Linked DNA regions of Homo sapiens: region 1 is linked to region 2. Evidence: promoter capture Hi-C in human tissues and cell types (Jung and others, 2019). All regions are on one chromosome and are shown on one strand. Each heading gives the region's core, a stretch centred on a gene start or on the middle of the fragment in contact. The rest is flanking DNA. Distances are from core to core; before and after follow the strand shown. Region 1 has its middle 100 kb from the start of RHOU. Region 2 holds the start of RAB4A (RAB4A, member RAS oncogene family).

Region 1 (6,903 bases), core at 1,174-3,673, 430 kb after region 2:
CTCAGGGCAACTTCCAGTCCCACAGGCTCCATTCACGGTAACTACCCTAGACCGTGTACCTTTTTTCATCTTTTTTTTAATTTTTTTTTTTTTCAGACAGAGTCTCGCTCTGTGGCCCAGGCTGGAGTGCAGTGGTGCAGTGGCACAATCTCGGCTCACTGCAACCTCCACCTCCCAGGTTCAAATGATTCTCCTGCCTCAGCCTCCCGACTAGCTGGGATTACAGACACACACCACCACACCCAGCTAATTTTTCTACTTTTAGTAGAGATGGGGTTGCACCATGTTGGCCAGGCTGGTCTCAAACTGCTGACCACAAGTGATCCGCCCACCTTGGCCTCCCAAGTGCTGGGATTACAGGCGTGAGCCACCACGCCCAGCCCCATTTTTCATCTTTTCTAACCACATTTTTATGGTACCTTTTCTGTGTTTAGATATGTTTAGATTCACAAATACCACTGTGTTACGATTGCCTACAGTATTTGGTACAGGAGCAATAGGTTATCCCATATAGTATAGGTATGTAGTAGGTTATACCGTCTAGGTTTGTGTAAGTACTCTCTATGACGTTCAAACAACAATGAAATCACCTGATGCATTTCTCAGACTGCATCCCCATCATTAAGCAATGCGTGACTGTACTTCTTATTATTCCACAGTGGCAAAAATAAAGCAGAGCAAAACAAAACAGTGCGTGTGTGTGTGTGTGTGTGTATGCAAGTGTGTGCATCCAAGCCTCTGTGTCTGCACAGAGTAAGGGTCCGTGGCCCTCATCAATAGCATCTCATGGGCTTTGGATCAGGCATTTGTCATTTGTAATATGTCCCCTTCCATTCTAGTTCTTGCTCGGTAAACCAGTTCAAAAACGCTCATTTCTGCCTCATTCTTCATTCTCTAGCCCCATGCCTCTCCAGGATGGTCAGAGGCCACCTTAGATGGCCCCGGCCTGCCCTGTACTTAGCTTCCCTTCCTCTCACCCCATAAGCCCTCTGTGAAGAGCAGGCTCTCTCCCTCCGCTCCACTGCCCCAGCGTCTTAGCTGAGTTCATGACCATTTTCAAAAATAAACAACAAATATAGTGGGCTGTGGGGGAGACAACGCACTTTGGAGCAAGAGGATCATGAGTCATGGTTTGGCTATTTCTCTGAATTCTAGTCTTGATCAAGTTACTGAAGCTCCCTGTGCCTCACTTTTTTCATCTGTAAACTGGGACTGATGGTATGTATTATCTACCTGACGTGGTTGTTGAGGAGATAAGAGCAAATGGGAGCAGGCATACAAAAGCCCAGGAGTGACGGCAGATTGTGCTAGAGGGCTGGGACACAGCCACATGTCCCACAGGGCCCTGACCACAGCAGGGAATATAGACCCATGACCAGCCCCACACCCCAGAAGAAAGTCAGATGAAAACTGAGATCACTTATTTTCTAAGGTCCTTCTTTCCTTGGGGAGTGTCTATTTGCATGGCCAGTGTAAGAGTGAATGGATTCAAACAGGATAATGGGAACAACTGCGGAAGCTTGGTCCAAACAACTTGAGTTGACCTCCTTAAGTGTAGCCTCCTGTGGTGACAGCGCACAGGAAATGAGGGGAATTGTTGCCTCTTTGTCCAGTTAGAGCTGAGTTACAGCTCAGAGAACCCTTTAGAACCTTGGATGAAAGGAGCTAGACTTCTTTCTGCCCACGATTCTAGAACACCAACCCTGTGGACACACCTTTTTTAAAACCACCAAACAAAACCACATGGAGTGTTTATAACCAAGGAATAATGGCTCGGACCTCCCTTCCCTCAGATAGCAGGAGCTTCTTACGTAAGGGGCACTCGATTGTGTTCACAGAGCCAACAGCATGAGTCACTGACCCCTGAGGTCATTCTGGCTCTTTTCAAAGCAAACAGAGTCCTGTTTTATAGATACAGGTAAGAAGTGAAAGAAAAAAGAAAAAGACAAAAGTTAAGAATCTGAAGGCACCCAGTGAGCAGTGGGGACAAGCACCTTCTCTGTTCATTGCTGGAATCCTGGTCACCCTCGCAGAGGCAGCACATTAATGGTTCAAGGCCTTTGCACCAGTGTGTGATGTAATCGCCACAGCTCAGCAGATTGCTGAAGGAACCACCCAGCTGCTTCTTACAAGTACATACATATCCATGGTGAAAATGTTCTCTGTGCTTGTTCCCTGGGCACAATTCACAACAGAATTTAGAACTGTACTCAACATGCCTCCCTGCACTAAATATATGTCATTGCTAACGTGTGGCTCTGTCACAGAAGCCTCCGAGCTATTCAGAAACTCTCAGGAGGTCAGAAGGGCTACCTTTGTCCAGAGCTCTGGTTAAAGATTAACAGGCTGGAGTCTTTGGGCCTGGCAGGGCCTAATGTAGTCTGCTGTCACCTCTCCGGGGTGAAGGAGCTGTGCGGGGCAGGCCCAGTGCCCACCGGATGACAAGAACAAAAGCCACCACACCCAGAGGCAGGATCTAGCATCTTGACCCCAGCTCTCCCTGAACTTCTCGGGGCCTCTGTTTCCTCAGTTGTGACATAGTGGGGTTGGACCTGACTCCCAGGGTACATGACAGAGGAGGTTTGCAAGGGAGCTGGGCTGGGGTTTGGCCTGCTGCTGGGGCCCTGAGCCCTGACTGCCCCATGGAAGCACAGCAGTGCAGCCCACTTCTGCGTCTGTTGGGGCCTCCAGCTTTCCTCTTCAGGGTTGCTGAGGAAGTTCTGGCAAGTTCCATCCACAGGAAGGTGTGCTGGGGAGGGATAGCAAATGGCAGACGCAAACACTAAGCCACAGGAAGCTCCCCATGGGACCACCAGGTGAAAACTGAGCTTGGCCTTGCTCAGGGGAGCAACCTGACATGGGTTTTTTTTGTTTTTTTGGGGTTTTTTTTGAGACAGTCTTGCTCTGTCGCCCAGACTGGAGTGCAATGGCATGATCTTGGCTCACTGCAACCTCTGCCTCCTGGGTTCAAGCGATTCTCCTGCCTCAGCCTCCTGAGTAGCTGGGATTACAGGAGTGTGCCACAACTCCCCGCTAATTTTTGTATTTTTAGTAGGGACGGGATTTCACATGTTGCCCAGGCTGGTCTCAAATACCTGACCTCGTGATCCACCCACCTTGGACTTCCAAAGTGCTGAGTTTACAGGCATGAGCCACCACGCCCGGCCACCTGACATGGTTTTTATGTTCTGTGAGAAGTTTTGTTGTTTTCTTCTTTTTAACGAGAAGATTTATGAGAATTCCTGCATCTTAACATCTATCCTGACACCGAGATAGAAGGCATTCTGAAACTACACATAATCCAGAAATGTGAACTTCCACCTCGTACCCAGAGGCCTCGCCCAACATCAGGTGCTCTCAGGCTCCAGATCCATTTTCAGTCAGGAAAAGAAATGAAAATACAAAACCAAGCAATTGAGTGAGCCATCTCTTAAGGACTGAATTATCAGGCATCTATAATGCTCTTTACCCTTTTTTCTTTCCCAGTCAGCGATGCTGCTTACACTACACATAAGATAAATGCAGCCTGGAAATGCAGCCTTCCCATTTTTGTTCCAAGCAGGTGGAAGCTTCTCCCTGCTGCTGTGTGGTCCTGACACACATACCCCAGTTAAAAACAAATAAAAACAGAAATGGCCCCACCATCACTAAATAAAACACCATGTATCTCCTTTGGTCCAATCACCCCATCTCACGTGGCTGAGTGACGCTGGCAGAGCATGGACCCCTGGATGCTGGGTAACTGCAGCAGAGATTCTCTCCCTCTGTAAACAGGCTGCAACCCGAGGAATGAATGTGTGCCTTCTTCTAGGGCTGCTCCTACCCTTTGCTTGCACAGCCTCTCTCTGTGCTCTGGTTCATTACAATGCTGAAGTCACTCTGCTTATCAGGGACCTTTGAGCTGCAGAGCACTGGCAGAGGCTGTGAGGAGGGATAAAAGAAACAGAGGACTGTATTTCTGGCCCTGAGGAGTCTACCTTCTAAGGAAGAAGCAGGTAAAGTGCATATAAAAGATAATATGTTACTACATACATAAAGAAATGCAAACTCCTCTGCTGTGAACGATACTCTCAAGCCCTGGGGGCTATGGGATTAGTGAACATCGTCAACCAGGTAACTCAGGGAAAGCTTAGCCGGGTGGTGAATCCATCATTGATCCCACTAGCACAGATAGTCAGGTGCAGACATTCCAGTCAGTAAAGGCTTGCCCTCCAGTGTGCATGCTAGTGCAGGCATCCCAGGGTAGGAAACTGTAGGCAGGCTTGTTGCAGCAGTGTGGGAAAGAAACAGGGGTGAGCCACGCGGAAGGACTTACCCATGCAGAACATCAGCGCCCATTCACACATCTGTCCCTTTAACAAATGTGTATTGCCTGTTCTGACACTGACATGAGCATTCATTCATGCTGACAAATCTGGCTAATTATGATAGGCAATCAGCAACCAAGCAATGATACAGTCAGAGTAGCATTGGAAGAAGAGATTTTTGAGATGACATGAGGAAAGGCTTAGAGGATAAGAGAGGCTGGAAATGAAAACTCAGAAAATAACAAGACTTGAGTGGGTTTTATTTAGAAAAAATATTAATGACACAAAACTTACAGAATTTTGGCCTCATTGTTTTGTGGTCTTTTTAATCAGCTTAACATGTTAGAAATAGACACATAACATGCTACAAGAAAATAGAGAGGACCCGGGCTTGGTGGCAGGAGCCTATAGTCCCAGCTACTTGGGAGGCTGAGGTGGGGGATCGCTTGAGCCCAGGAGTTCAAGGCTGTAGTGTGAGATGATCATGCCTCTGAGCAGCCACTATACTTCAGCCTGGGCAACATAGTAAGACCCCATCTCTTAAAAGAAAAAAACAGAGCGTGAGGTAGGTATTCACTAATATTAGTTTATGAAAGGCATAATTTTTTCCAGCAAATTCAGTAAAACCTGGAGACCATAACCTGGGATATTACCCAAAATGGTCATAGATCCCGCACGCTGTCCAACCACCTACCAACTCCACCCTACAGTCTTCATAACAAGTGATATGGTTTGGATGTTTTGTCCTCTCCAAATCTCATGCGAAATGTGACCTCTAATGTTAAAGGTGGGCCTAGTGGGAGGTGTTTAGGTCATGGAAGTAGACCCCTCATTACTGTCTTGGTGCTATCCTCATAGTACTTAATGAGTTATCACTGTATGGGCTCTCGCAAGATCTAGTTGTTTAGAAGATCCTGACACCTCCTCCCTCTCTTTCTTGCTCCTTCTCTCACTATGTGACATTCCCTTGCCTTCCACCATGATGGGAAGCTTCCTGACACCTCACCAGAAGCTGAGCAGATGCTGGTGCCATGCTTGTACAGCCTGCAGAACCATGAGCCAAAGAAACCTCTCTTCTGTATAAATTTCCCAGCTTCAGGTATTCCTTTATAGCAAAGCAGAATGAACTAAGATAATACGGTAAAAGCGAAATGAAACAGAGACAATAGCTACTGGCTGAAGGAAGAGTCAACTGTCATGTTTGAAGCGTGGATCAAGCCTTCAGAATAACCACGTGGCCCATATTTCATGGCACTGTCTTAAAGTACATGACCATACTCCCAGAAGCTCCCACCAGCTGGCTTCTCACAGCTTTCCTTCACTGTGGCTGTGCTTACCTTCTGGTCTGCCCAGCTCCAGTCTATCAAAGACTCCATAGGCACAGACAGCACGGTCAGGGCTGAGTGGCTGCCACACCTTGACCAAGCCCGCAGCACCAACTTCTGACCCAAGGAGTGTCCCCTGAGCCTGCTCACGTTATGTGGCAGCCTTTTGTCTACCTAAAGATATTTCTTCAAACACTCTCTGGCAAAGATTCACTCAGGAAAGGCAGCTGCCTCTCACCCCGTCAGCTGCTATGTTCTGAAACACATTGGCCAAGAAGCACTATATGTGAAAATGCCTCGCAGGGCTCCATGAGCTTACGAGCTGCAGGGAAATAAAACAATATTTTAACAGGCTTTCCAACCAACAGGGATCCTGGGACTCTTATATTAGGATCCATGACTAATCCTGTCAAAACTAACACTGGCTAGAACAATATTTAGCCAGGAAAATTGCTGAAAGCTGCCAGTGTGTGGTCCTCCGTTTAAGGACTCATCAGGTTATTATGTTGGGCTGGGGTTTGGGGAGGAGAGGGCATTTCAGAGAAAGTTTTACCTTACATGGAACAATTCCTGATGTATCCCAAGAAAAATCCCATTACTGTATGGACAACAGCCCAGAGCCAGGCTGAACATTTGCAGGGGTCTTTCAGGCTTTCTCTTTGGAGAGGGCAAACTGAGGTTTCCCCAAATGACACGTTAGTTTTGTTCTTACAGCCTTGGGGTTAGCAAATTCTATGTCATGTGCCAAGATTCTGAGCCTTCTCCCCGAACCTGAGAAGGGAGGCAGGGAGGGCAGTGGCCGTGGCTCCTCCCAGTGAAGGAGGAGGGAGTAAAATCCTCCGTGAGCTCCCAGAACTGATGCCGGCTCTCCAAACGCGATGGAGAGTGGGACAGCACCGTACAGGAGCTGAAGGCAGTCAGATGTAAACTCTGTCAGGCTGCAGCAGCCTCAGCCCTCCTTTGGGCTGTTTGTGTCTCTGCATCATGTCTTCTTGTACTCAAACACATACATGTGTATGCACATGCTCACACAAACGTGTGTTACACATGGGCTCACATAGGCACACCGTTGTACACACACGTATGCAAAAACACACGTACATATACACTCATGCAAGCAAACACACACTCTGATGCCACAGGCACCTGTGTTCTCATATTTTACATCTTTTCATACTCTGAATACATGCATACAGACACACATGTACACACAAGATCACACAGCACACACACTTCTGTTTACACATATGTTTACATAAGTACACACATAC
Region 2 (6,877 bases), core at 1,361-3,860:
GTTGCCCAGGATGGAGTGCAGTGGCACAATCTTGGCTCACTGTAAACTTCACCTCCTGGGTTCAAGCAATTCTCATGCCTCAGCCTCCCAAGTAGCCGGGACTACAAGCGTACCACCATGCCCAGGTAATTTTTTGTATTTTTAATAGGGCTGGGGTTTCGCCATGTTGGCCAGGCTGGTATTGAACTCCTGAGCTCAAGTGATCCGCCCAACTCGGCCTTCCAAAGTGCTGGGATTACAGGCGTGAGCCATCACCTCTGGCCTCATTTTCTATTTATTAGTTTCTACTAGTTTTCGATTAATTTCCTCTATTAGAAGAAAAGATTCAATTCAGAGTTGCAAAGTAAAAACATACTTGGAAGTTACCATGAAATAAGAATACTAATGGTCAAAGCCTTATGATCAGAATGTAATCAATCTGTGAAGCTCAAAAGTTCAGTTAACTGTGTCTGAAGTGGAGATGCCAAAGATAAGCTCTATTTTATCAGTTGTTATCATGCGTATACGAAAAATGAAACATAAAAGCTCTATCTCCTGAACTCTTCCAATCCTTTCTTACTGATTCATGACCCCCACTTGCTTTTCTTATTTGGACATTCCACCCTTCCCCTAGTGCTCCGTGCTCCTTACTCAGGTTAAAGAAACTAAGCCTGGGCTAAAGAGCACTTGAAAATAAAGAAGTGCAAAGATGTAACCAAAAATTGCTAAAGACCATGTTTTCCTTACAACATTTCTGACTGTGGTTCTCTACAGGAAGAACCAGACCACTGCCATTTGCAGAAACATTTGCAAACACTTGTCCTGATGAAGGCATCGACTTACTGGAGGATTTCCTACGCCTTCTAGGAACAGATGTCATGCCCCTTTGTCACCAAGAACAGGGCAGTACCAGTCACAGGAGTCACTCACTGAAGGTGGACCAAATGCACTGTGACCCCAGCATGGAAGCCCTTCCAAAAGTTCCCATTTTTTCTTACAAGACAAACTGACGCCTTCCTCAAGACCCTCTCCTCTCTGCCTCCTCATCCACCTCTCCAGCGTGGTACTCAAAACACACCCTTCTTGAGTTACCCTTCCCACAGGCCTGAGATGTTCTGCGTGCTGCCTGGTTAATGCCTCCCTGACACCCCTGTCTGGGTCATCTTTCTTTCTAACACACTTTCACGGACCACACTCCTTCAGAACTCTTGCCTGGTTTTTAATTATTCACTCATTAGTATCACAATTGGATTAATACTGCATTCCCTCAATAGACTACGCTCCATGAGACCAGAGCCGTGTCTGCTGTGTTTCTGCAGGATGTACAGCCCTCCCAGCACGGTGCTCGCTTCCCTAATGCCATTCCACAGTATTTGTTGCAGAGAAGGAAGCAGCATGCCAGGACAGATGGAGACAGGACTAATTTGGCTTGAGGTATGTAATTTTGAACTTGAGCCTCTCTCTGGGACTGTAAAACTCCAAATCAAAGTCTTAATCTGAGAATACATACATCTGAAAGAGTGATTAGGGACTGGTAAACATCTATTAATATTCAACTCTGATACAAAGTACAAGTTGTTTATTCTTACCACGCAAGGCCAAAAAAGGGGAGAAAAAAAAAAAAGCACACAGCATATGCACTGGGAAAGCTTTCGCTTATTCAAAACAGTATTTGTCAAGCACCTCCAGGTCTGGGTGCTGCAGGGGAAACAAAGATTAAACAGCCAGGGCTTTGCTTCCAAGGTGCTTACGGTCTTAAGAAGGAGACAAGACATGTTTATAAATAGCCAAAATGCAACCCAGAAAAGGCTAAAAAACACTGAGAGGGAGGGAGAAATAAACGAAGCAAGAGGTCTCCGGAGGAAGAGATGAATGAATTAGCCTATTAATAACTCCTCACTGTAATCCCAATGTAAAGCAAGGAATTCCAAACCAGGAAAGGTCAAACTGAAGTATTTGAGGAACACAGGCGTCGCCCTAAGCCCTTCACAGGCTCGCTGGGGATAATATCGCAGCTGAAACCGAACATCAAGCTGGCTTTTCAAACCTTCAGTTATTTACATTAGACTGAGAGGGGAAAAGCGCTAAGAGTGCAAGAGCAGAGAAAGAGCAAGAGGAAACTTGAAAAGGCGGATCACGCCAATGCGCTGTGCACAGCGCCCCCGCGCCCCGCGCACCCGCTACCCCACCCGAGCCCCCAGCGGCCCGCGTCCCCCATCCCGGTCCCAAGCCCAGACACCTCCGAGATCCGTCCCCCGGCTCCGGCCGGCGCCACCGCCACCCTCAAGACCCCCGCAGCCCAGGCCCGGCCCCGCGCCACCGACGCCCCCCGCGGCCCGACCCGCGCGCCCCGCCAGCCCGGGCCTCGTACCGTAGGTTTCGGACATGGCCGTCTGCGACATCTTGGGAGCGGCGCCGCCTCTCGCCGGGTCACCGGCTGCACTCGCCCGCGGTCCGCCGGCGCGTCTCGGTGGGGAAGGACCTGGGGCGGGGGACCGGAGGAGGGAGGGGCCCGACCGGTCCCCACGGCAACCGCCGGTCTCCCAGCGGCTGCGGCCCAGCCGGACTCCAGCTCCGCGCAGGCGCAGGGCCCTCCACCCTCCGTCCGGCCGCGACCGCGAGGAGGAAGAGGAGATGGGCTACGCGAGGCCCGGCCCACCCCGCGTTCGCGCGTGCGCACGGGGAGGCCGGGGCGGGGCGCGTGAGGACTTCGGCGCGCGCCGGAAGCACGTGCGCGGGCTGGGCGCTCTGGCGGTGTGCGCTGAGGTGGGCAGAGCGGCAGGTGGGGGCGTTGGGGGCTGAGTCCCGATTTCCCTGAGGGAGGGTCGGGTAGAGGCGGGCGGTGGGCAGGTTTGGGGGTGACAGAGGGCTGGGGACAGTGGGGTCCAGTTGCCGGACAGAGGAGGAAGGTGCCCGCACTGGGGAGGAAAGCAGTCCATTTGCCAAATTGGCCCGTCTCAGTTAAGACGTTGTCTTCGGTCATCATCTGCGGCTGTCAGCCAGGAAAAAACTTCCCTGACGCTGTTACGATGGAGGCCAGAACTTGGTTAATGTGTAACAAGGAGGCAGTAGGCCCCAGGTGTCCAGCCAGAGGCCGCCCTGTGAATGGGAGGCAGGTTCATTTACCCGTTGGGAAGCTAAGCTTTCACTCCAAACTGCCGGGCCCTCTTGGATGGAGCTGAGCGGGTGTGGGCGGAATGACAGAAGCGCAAGATGCCCAGGTGCTAAAAGGTCATCGCAAGACTACAGGCTGCAGCCTCTCCACATCCCATTTTAGAGGGTTCTGGATTACGGTTGAGAAGTATCTCCCGGCCCTCAGCTGGGGATGTGTTTCCAAATTTAGGAGTTTTTTTAATTTTTATTTTTTAACAGGGTCTGGCACTGTCAGCCCAGCCCAACCGATTCTCCTGCCTCAGCCTCCTGAGTAGCTGGGGCTAGGGGCTCACACGACCACACCGCGCCAATTTTTAAATTTTTTGTAGAGATGGGGTCTTGTTATGTTGCCCAGGCTGGTCTTGAACTCCTGAGTTCAAGCATCCTCCCTCCTTGGCCTCCCAAATTGCTGGGATTACAGGCATGAGTCATCTCACCTGGCCTTGGATAGTTTGGTTTCAGAAGCAAAACTGAGTTAGAATCCCCTTCTGTGGGAAATGTAGAGATAAACATTTATGGGAAAGAGAATTTTGGTTGAGGATTTGGCCCATCTGAGCTTGATCAGGGCCACATAGCGCCTCATAGTTCCCAACCTTGTTCACAATAGGTAGTCGAATGCTCAAAATATCCTTGGCTAAGCTCCCAAGTGACCTGGACTGTGTGGAAAATGCCAGTACATACTTTTGTGTGTGTGTGTGTGAGTCAGTTTGGCTCCATCCTCCACATAAATTGGCATCAGAGCTTCCCTCTTCCCCAGTGGCTATTTGGGTCGGTATTTTTCTCTTGTCTCCGATCCTAATAACAAATAAATGCAGTTTTTTCTAAATCACAGAGAAGGCCCCATGGTGAAAAGTTGTGACAGCTGTAATTCCTAAAACTGTTTTATATATATTTCTTGTTCAGTGGCTCAGATCATTTGTTGCTTTCTTGTTTGTCTCTCTGCATGTCGTGTTTGATTTAGGCTCCTGAGTATAACAGATTGGTTCTGATTAAAACCATTTCAGAGGAAAGACAGTGATCCCAGGAAGCGGGAAGAAAACAGCATCACCTGAAGTTATTCCTATTCGTTAGATTTGTTTTCTTCCTGCGAAAAACTGCTATGTACAAGAAAGAAGTCAGTGAGCTGCAGTGATAGTTAGCATTATTGACTGAAACTGGACCAGAGATCCCTGAAACCTGGACAAGGTGGTAGAAATACAAATTATGCTGCCATTTCAAAGCTGTGGGCAGTTTTCTACTTTGTGGAAAATGAAGACTTAGGTAGGCCTTTGGGAAAGACGATTTGTTTTGGAAAAACCACCCAAAGGGATCATTTGGTTTGCAAATGTAACTGCAGTATCACAACTGGAAGAAGAAATATACAAGGGCGAGGTTTGAAGGAGCCCTTCAGTATCCTTGGATGATACTGTGGAAGATTCTTTGCATCTCAGTAACTTTGGATCTTTGAAGATCCAAGAAAATAAATTTCTTCAAAATATTTTTAGAGACTGCTTTGATTCTGAGGCACTGCTGATTATATGGAAGAAAAAAATATTGGAAGATTAATTTGTGGTTTTCTCCAGTTATCGTCTCCCTTCTCTTTGGGGGAGGTTTGTGACGCAGTAAAAACAGATATACAAAAGCCTAGGCATGTTAGAGATTTGCCTAAGGGAAATGTAATTATGAAGAAGGATTTTTTCAAGCTGAAACTAGATCCCACTTTTTTCCAGGTCAGTGGGTCCTTCAAGTATCTGGTACTTTCCTTCCTGCTTCCTGACAATGTTAAAGAATGTGGCATGACCTTACATTTAATGCCCAACGTGAGGAGCCCTGGGGCTTGATGCATGAGATTCTTGGAGCTAGGCCTGGTGGAGGGCACTGGTCACAGCCTCGGTGGAATGGTGACTTTCTTTGGTAACTGGAATTGAAGAAAATGAGTGGACTTGTGTCTGAGCACTTGGGAACTCAGCAATCCCTGGGTGTTACCTTGAGAAGGAGCCAAATTCCAGACATACAAGTGGAGACTTGAAAATGGAAGCTCAATTCCACACCCAGGCTGGTGGAGACTATGACATATAACTCACATCTTCAAGAAAGTAGACACCTCAGAGGTCACTGGGCCACTTTACCTTCCACTGTCAAAACTATGTCCATGATCAGATACCTCTGTTGCTAGGGAATATTCAGTCAGAATGGGCTAGATTAACTGCAGTAATGCAGATCTCTCAACCCATTTATGACTTACGCAGCAAAGTTCCTCGCTCAGACTACCTGTCCACTCCCACGAGCAGAGACTTGCTCATGGGCCCTCCTAGACCCAGGCTGACCGAGTGTGTTTTATCTAAATGCATCTCCACAATCACTCAGGTAGGAGTGGCTATGCATTAGGACTGATTGTGCATTAGTTAGAGAAGCACTTACCAGGAATTGCTATAAGAACTTCTATTTACATTTCATGGGCCAAAGCAAGTCATGTGGCAACACTTAATTTCAAAGAGGACAGGAAATGCAATATTGTTATGTCCCTGAAAGAAAGGAGAAGAGAAAGTCTATGGAAAGACATTATGACTACCACTGGAATTTTCACCTGTCCAGGCAGCTCATCGTGCTTTTATTTGAAACAATTTTATTGAAGTATAGGCATAACTGCACATACGTATGTATTTATTTTATTTTATTTTTTGAGATGTAGTCTTGCTTTGTTGCACAGGCTGGAATGCAGTGGCGTGATCTCAGCTCACTATGACCTCTGCCTCCCGGGTTCAAGTGATTCTCCTGCCTCAGACTTCTGAGTAGCTGGGATTACAGCCACGCGCCACCACACCTGGCTAATTTTTGTATTTTTAGTAGAGACGGGGTTTCGCCTTGTTGGCTGTGCTGGTCTCAAACTCCTGACCTCAGGTAATCCGCCTGCCTCAGCCTCCCAAAGTGCTGGGCAGCCTCCCAAAGTGCTGGGATTACAGGCGTGAGCCACCGCACCTGGCCTGCACATATTTAAAGTGTACATTTTGACAATTTTTAATATATATGTACGCTTGTGCTTGCTGCTCCAGGGGACCGCTATTTCTAGGCCTTTTCAGTGGACAGAGGCATTTTTGTGATTGTTTTATCTCATTTGTCACTTAGGAAGAATAACTTCTTGTGAGGTTTAGTGGTGGTTTTGGGGTTGATAGTATAGGTCTTCATCACAGTCCACCTCCAAGTGATAATACACTACTTTATACAGAGTATAAGAAACTGACAACCATTTGCTTCCATCCTCCCCCAGCATCTGTGCTGGGGATGTTGTACTTCTACATATGTTGTACACCCACATACATTGTTATTGTTTTTACTTAATAAGCTACTAATTCTCTGTCTCTCTTTTCCTTTTAATTGTGGTAAAATAGACATAAAATGTAGCAACTCAGCCATCTTGAAATGTACAGTGGCATTAAATATATTCCCATTGTTGTGCAACCATCACCACCATCCATCTCTAGAACGCTTCATGTTGCAAACCTGAAACTCTGTACCTGTTTAACAACAACTCCCCATTCACTTCTCCCCACAGTGCCTGGCAACCACCATTTTACTTCCTGTCTAGGAATTGGCTTCTCTAGGTACAGTACCTCATATAAATGGAGTCATACAGTATTTGTCTTTTCCTCACTGTCGTATTTCACTTAGCATAATGTCCTCAAGATTCATCTGTAACATTGTAGAATGTGTCAGAATTTCCTTCCTGTTTAAGACTGAATACTATTCAATACTTTGTACATATATA

What was found. The method cuts DNA at HindIII sites, captures the fragments that hold promoters and counts their contacts. A contact is called where the count stands out against the background at its distance.
Region 1: a contact is called between a fragment that was not itself captured here and the fragment with the promoter of RAB4A in region 2, in 3 of the 25 tissues and cell types used here (dorsolateral prefrontal cortex, hippocampus and spleen).

The regions. Positions count from the first base shown.
Region 1 is chr1:228,833,567-228,840,469 of GRCh38, reverse strand. No RefSeq gene overlaps it. Among named protein-coding and RNA genes, the nearest start is that of RHOU, 100 kb to the right of the region's middle. The HindIII fragment of the contact is 4,581 bases long and covers 133-4,713 here.
Region 2 is chr1:229,266,844-229,273,720 of GRCh38, reverse strand. It overlaps RAB4A (RAB4A, member RAS oncogene family), which reads right to left and starts at 2,610. Exons shown (of 8, transcript NM_004578.4): 1 at 2,351-2,610. The coding sequence starts at 2,381. It overlaps RAB4A-AS1 (RAB4A antisense RNA 1), which reads left to right and starts at 2,567. Exons shown (of 2, transcript NR_149313.1): 1 at 2,567-2,745. RefSeq lists silencers at 2,069-2,228, 2,269-2,798. The HindIII fragment of the contact is 8,116 bases long and covers 1-6,877 here.